2 separate regions of the Homo sapiens genome follow, and region 2 is linked to region 1. The links are contacts of gene promoters, found by promoter capture Hi-C in human tissues and cell types (Jung and others, 2019). All regions are on one chromosome and are shown on one strand. Each heading gives the region's core, a stretch centred on a gene start or on the middle of the fragment in contact. The rest is flanking DNA. Distances are from core to core; before and after follow the strand shown.

Region 1 (3,267 bases), core at 714-3,213:
CAGGTTTCGCTGAGCTCACACCCGGCAACACTGCTGCTAGGAGTTCCCTTCGGCTACTATTTATTATTTTCCTCCACACAGGGGAAGAGAAAGGGAAGCCCGAGAGGATCCAGGGAAAGCAGAAGGGGGTTAAGGACCATGGACAGAGCCCGTCGCGCGCTCGTTGCTGCCGCCTTCCCCAGCACTCTGGCGGCTCCTGAGGACAGCGGTCCCATCTTGAAACCGCTATTCCGCCCGGCTGAGGTCAGGGGTGGACAGGCGGTCCCCTACTCTCCACCGCCGCTTCCGGGAGCTGACCACCCGAGGGTTCCCCTTTTCCACTCTCCTTCCCACTCTGTTTTTGTCCCAGCGCGCGCCAGCGCCTCTCAGGCCTGCCGCCTGCTCTCGCACCTGCTCGCCTTCCCCAGGCGCCCAGTGCCTGCACCTGCTCCCGGTCAACCCCCGTCCGGATTGGGCCACCCGCGGGTTCCTGCGTCGGGGTCCCGGGGCCTTCTCACCCTCGCCTGCACCCTGCTCCTTCCGCTCTCTAGGGAGGTGACAGCAGCCCCCAACACCGCGGGAAGTATAGAGAAAATGGGATCCAGAAGGAGAGGAAGTAGTGTGTGTGTGTGTGTGTGTGTGTGTGTGTGTGTGTGACAGAGAGAGAGAGATAGATAGAAAGAGATTATCTCCTTTTGCAACTGGAACCAAGAGTGTGTGTCCATCTCTAGGAAAAGTGGTCTGCACTGGGACTGGGACAGAAGTGGGAGTGAAGTGTCAGCTAAAAATAGGCTCCGCACCGAGAGGCTGTGGAAATGAAGATAAGTGAGGTTTGTGCCAGCCCCCGAGGGTGTGTGTGTGTGTGTCTGTGTTGTGGGGTGTATTCAGCAGCATATGCGCTGTGTAATTTCTGACCTTCCCTCTCCCTGTCAGTTGCCCCTTCTTCCTTTGATTGTGGCTAATGAAGAATAATAAATCCAGGGGCAGGGTTTGCCAGTGGATCCTTCCAAGACTCAACTCGAACTGTACTGGATACAGGGAGGAGGAGGAAGAGAAAAGGGGGGCAAGAGGAGCGTGTGTGTGTGCCTGTGTGTATGTGTGTGTGTGTTGTGGGAGGGGTGGGGACAGCGGGGAGGGGGAGGAGTCGCATGCGCACAGACGACCCGAGCCTGCTCCGCGGCTGTCCAATCCGCTGAGAGCTGCGAGAAATCGAGTGAGAGAAAGCCCTGCAGCCCCTCCGACCCCATGTCTCTTTGGCACCAGGCACCCGCCGGGCCGTGGGGGGCTCGTAGCCGAACGCCGACCTCCGCTCGTATTGGGCTGGGAGTTCAGAGCCGCGCGCAGAACCCGGGTTGGCCGCAACGTCTGTGTTCTCAGCGGTGGCCGGGAACCTGGGATCAGGGTCACCTGAGCTGACGGGGTGGGGGCGGGCCGAGTGGGGTTGGAAGCCTGGAACTTAGTGGTAAGCAGGAGGCGTAGGAGGTGGCAGCCAGGTAAGAGGCACTCTTACCTACCCAACGCTGGCTTGGGCCGCAACTTTATTTGGGAGTTTCTTTTTCCGGTGAGACAGAGACCCGGCAGAAGAAGCGGGAGGGGCTGGAGGCTGGTCCTTAGGTAGGCACTGCCCGGCGACTGGAGCGCGGACCTGGCCATTTGGGTGGGGTTGAGTGGGGGCGCGATTGTGAGTAGCAGCCGCGGGACGCTGCGAAGGGGCGGCGGCAACAGAGCACGGGCGGGGGCAGAAAAGAGGCGGCGGAGGGCGCGGTGGGGGAGCGCGAGGCGAGTGCTGAGAGAGCAGAAAGGACTCAAGCCTGAGGGGAGTAGAGAGGAAGAAGGGGCAACGCGAGAAACCGAACAGGAGCCGGCGTTTCCTGGCAAGGGAGGGCGGAGGCGCGCGGGAGAGAGGGAGAGAGGGAGGGCGGGGGGCGCGGGGGTAGGCGCGGGGAGAGGGGAGTATAACTCGCCGGCCGCGAGGAGCGGGGGCAGTTTCGGGTGCCGAGGTCTGCAGCTAGCGGCAAGCGGAGTCAGGCATCCGTTCAGACTGACAGCAGAGGCGGCGAAGGAGCGCGTAGCCGAGATCAGGCGTACAGAGTCCGGAGGCGGCGGCGGGTGAGCTCAACTTCGCACAGCCCTTCCCAGCTCCAGCCCCGGCTGGCCCGGCACTTCTCGGAGGGTCCCGGCAGCCGGGACCAGTGAGTGCCTCTACGGACCAGCGCCCCGGCGGGCGGGAAGATGATGATGATGTCCCTGAACAGCAAGCAGGCGTTTAGCATGCCGCACGGCGGCAGCCTGCACGTGGAGCCCAAGTACTCGGCACTGCACAGCACCTCGCCGGGCTCCTCGGCTCCCATCGCGCCCTCGGCCAGCTCCCCCAGCAGCTCGAGCAACGCTGGTGGTGGCGGCGGCGGCGGCGGCGGCGGCGGCGGCGGCGGAGGCCGAAGCAGCAGCTCCAGCAGCAGTGGCAGCAGCGGCGGCGGGGGCTCGGAGGCTATGCGGAGAGCCTGTCTTCCAACCCCACCGGTGCGTATTTCTGCATAATCACCGCTTAAAGGCACATTTTGACAGCCCCCTTTATCTGCTTGATGTTTTTTTCATGTCTGCACAGCAAATCACCCCACACCTCCAACCAATTTTCCCCTCTCTCTCTCTTAAGTATTCAGCAGGTCTTGCCTTTCATATTAATTTTTATGACCTGGGATGTTGCCTGTGCGCGTGTTGTGTTGTGTTTCGTTGTGTCTACAGGCTCACTTTCCTCCTCCTCCTGCACTCTCGGCTTCTTTCTGTGGCTTCCCTCTTTTTCTCTTCACCTCTGTTTTCAGGATTATTATTATTATTATTTTAACGATCTGGGAATGTTGTAGGCGCGGCGACGGTGTCGAGCCCTGGGCCGGGGCTTCCGGAGAGAGGGCGTACAATTCCCTGCTGAGCGTAATGTGTGCCTTCTACTTACAATTGCAGAGCAATATATTCGGCGGGCTGGATGAGAGTCTGCTGGCCCGCGCCGAGGCTCTGGCAGCCGTGGACATCGTCTCCCAGAGCAAGAGCCACCACCACCATCCACCCCACCACAGCCCCTTCAAACCGGACGCCACCTACCACACTATGAATACCATCCCGTGCACGTCGGCCGCCTCTTCTTCATCGGTGCCCATCTCGCACCCTTCCGCGTTGGCGGGCACGCACCACCACCACCACCATCACCACCACCACCACCACCAACCGCACCAGGCGCTGGAGGGCGAGCTGCTGGAGCACCTGAGTCCCGGGCTGGCCCTGGGCGCTATGGCG
Region 2 (2,912 bases), core at 220-2,719, 51 kb before region 1:
GTTTATCACAGCGTGCAAAATCATCTGTGGTACTTATGAAAAATTCCTGGACCTCACCCCAAACCTAATGAATCAGAATCTCTAGGGTAGGCTGTAAATCTGCGTTTCACAAGTTCAGAGTTGAGTTCTGCTTGCATCTCTTATTGTCTGCTAGTGTGTAGCTGTGCTCCTAAAAGAGCTTTTAAACAGAACTACTTTAAATGTTCATAGAGTTGCACCAGAACAGGAGAACAGCATGAAATCCCATTATGTCGCAATCCTAGCTATTTGTTTGAGAAATCAGGGACAGGCTCAGCAGAGACATTTTTTTGGTGAGCAAGTGTGTCTTTTACTGCTTCCTCAAAAACCCTATCCACAACCCTCTTTATCCCTCTTATTCTCAGCATGTTACCTTACATCCTACCTCATCAAGAAAATAGAAGTGATCATCAGTAGTGCTTCTCTATGATCACTGAATTTCTGGATTTCCTGAAAATCTTTCCTGGCATCCATTTTTTCAATAATTGTGTGAGCTTCTAACTCCTTGGAATAATTCATTTTTGCTTGAAATTTCTGTATTATTTTGACTTATACAGGCTGCTTCCAATTCTTTTATTAAAATGATAAAAAACAATTTAAATAATCAATCTAGACTTGATGTCCAAAAATGTCTTTTCCAGAAACACATATTTGTTACTTGACACATTAATTGTATACATACGTAACAAGCATCTTAGTCTAAACATAGTCAAAATTGAGCTCCTGATTTTTCCTCCCAAGTCACCTTCTCCTGCAACCTTCACCAGCTCAATTTAAGACATCACCTTTCTCCACTTGCTCAGGCCAATCACTTTGGTGGCATCTTTAACTCCCTTACTTTTCTCATAACCCACATTCAGTGTATCTGCAAAACCTGGCAGTTCTACCTTTAAAATATATCTAGAAGGAGACCACTTCTCACCATCTGCTCTACTCCTTCTCTGGCCCAAGCCACTCAGCTATCATCTAGATTAGTGTACTAGCCTTGCTCTCTTCTGCCCACACCCTCTGCAGTCTATTCTCAGCGCAATAGCCAGAGTCATCCTGAAAAACTTAAGGCAAGTAATGTCATTTATCTTCTCAAAACCTTCCAGTGGCTTCTTCCTTACTAAGGGTAAAAGAAAAGCTGCTAACTCTTGCCTTTAAGATCCTATATGATCTGGCCTCTTTACCTCCCTAACTTTCATCACTTTTCACTCTCTCTCTTGTTCTCTCTGCACCAGTCACACTGGCTTCCTTCCTAGTCCTAGAACATGCAATTTATGCTGACAACTTCTTTGCTTCCTCATTTTGCTATCCTCCCTTTCCTTCAAAAAGTGTCTTCTCTTTGAGGCATTGCCTGGCCACATTACTTGAAATTCCAGTTTCTTCAACCCCTGATATCTTATATATGCCTTCTTTACTTTTTCTTTTCAGCACTTGAGACTATCCTCCATTCCATATATTTTAATTATTTGCATATTTATTCAATCTCCCCTTCCAGAAGATCCAGGAACACAAGATATTTTTTTCGTTTAATATTATGCCCCCAGCACCTAGGATAATGTCTGGCATATAGTAGGTGCTCAACATGTATTTGGTAGGTATTAAGTGATTCTTTTGGAAATGTTAACAGAGATAATTTCTATTGAAGTTGGTGCTGGTTTCTGGGGAAAACATCATGAAAGTAAGAGTATAAAAGTATTTCCTGCATTTACAGCATTTGGATGATTTACTTCAATCAAGAAATATTTAGTGAGGGCTAGGGTTGGTTCCAAGTCTTTGCTATTGTGAATAGTGCCGCAATAAACATACATGTGCATGTGTCTTTAGAGCAGCATGATTTATAATCCTTTCGGTATATACCCAGTAATGGGATGGCTAGGTCAAATGGTATTTCTAGTTCTAGATCTTTGAGGAATCACCACACTGTCTTCCACAATGGTTGAACTAGTTTACAGTCCCACCAACAGTGTAAAAGTGTTCCTATTTCTCCACATCCTCTCCAGCACCTGTTGTTTCCTGACTTTTTAATGATCACCATTCTAACTGGTATGAGATGGTATCCCATTGTGGTTTTGATTTGCATTTCTCTGATGGCCAGTGCTGATGAACATTTTTTCATGTGTCTGTTGGCTGCATAAATGTCTTCTTTTGAGAAGCGTCTGTTCATATCCTTCACCCACTTGTTGATGGGGTTGTTTTTTTCTGGTAAATTTGTTTGAGTTCTTTGTAGATTCTGGATATTAGTCCTTTGTCAGATGAGTAGATTGCAAACGTTTTTTCCCATTCTGTAGGTTGCCTGTTCACTCTGATGGTAGTTTCTTTTGCTGTGCAGAAGCTCTTTAGTTTAATTAGATCCCATTTGTCAATTTTGTCTTTTGTTGCCATTGCCTTTAGTGTTTTAGACATGAAGTCCTTGCCCATGCCTATGTCCTGAATGGTATTGCCTAGGTTTTCTTCTAGGGTTTTTATGGTTTTAGGAACTTAAAGTATAATAAAAATAAATAAATAAATAAAAAGAATTGAAAGGGGGAAAAAAGAGAGAATGTCAAAAGACAGAGGGAAGGGGGGATTACAAAGAGCTGCTCCTACTGCATTCTTTTTATATTAATGGTTAGTGAATACCAGTGTTAGACGTTCACATCACAGTACAAATAAGATGATTTGATTTTAATTTTTAGACAAAAGTAGTCTTTCTGCATTCTAGGTCATGCTGATAAAACCTTTTTTGAAAACCAAACTATTCATATAGTCTGTACCAAGCCTTACCTATACATGCAGCTAGAAAATACCTAGAGGACTTTATTCGTTAACAAATTATCACACATGCATGCTGCTCAGAGAGTATGTTTAAGATAGTGGTTAAAAGCACAGGCTCTGAAGCCATACTGCCTGAGTTTGTTTCCTTTCTG

Evidence for each region. Contacts are between HindIII fragments. The study calls those that stand out against the background at their distance.
Region 2: a contact is called between a fragment that was not itself captured here and the fragment with the promoter of POU4F2 in region 1, in 2 of the 25 tissues and cell types used here (bladder and heart right ventricle).

Annotation. Positions count from the first base shown.
Region 1 is chr4:146,636,930-146,640,196 of GRCh38, forward strand. POU4F2 (POU class 4 homeobox 2) reads left to right here and starts at 1,964. Exons shown (of 2, transcript NM_004575.3): 1 at 1,964-2,499; 2 at 2,938-3,267. The coding sequence starts at 2,212. RefSeq lists enhancers at 318-899, 900-1,481, 1,482-2,062, 2,063-2,644. The HindIII fragment of the contact is 18,734 bases long and covers 1-3,267 here.
Region 2 is chr4:146,586,000-146,588,911 of GRCh38, forward strand. No RefSeq gene overlaps it. Among named protein-coding and RNA genes, the nearest start is that of POU4F2, 51 kb to the right of the region's middle. The HindIII fragment of the contact is 4,220 bases long and covers 1-2,912 here.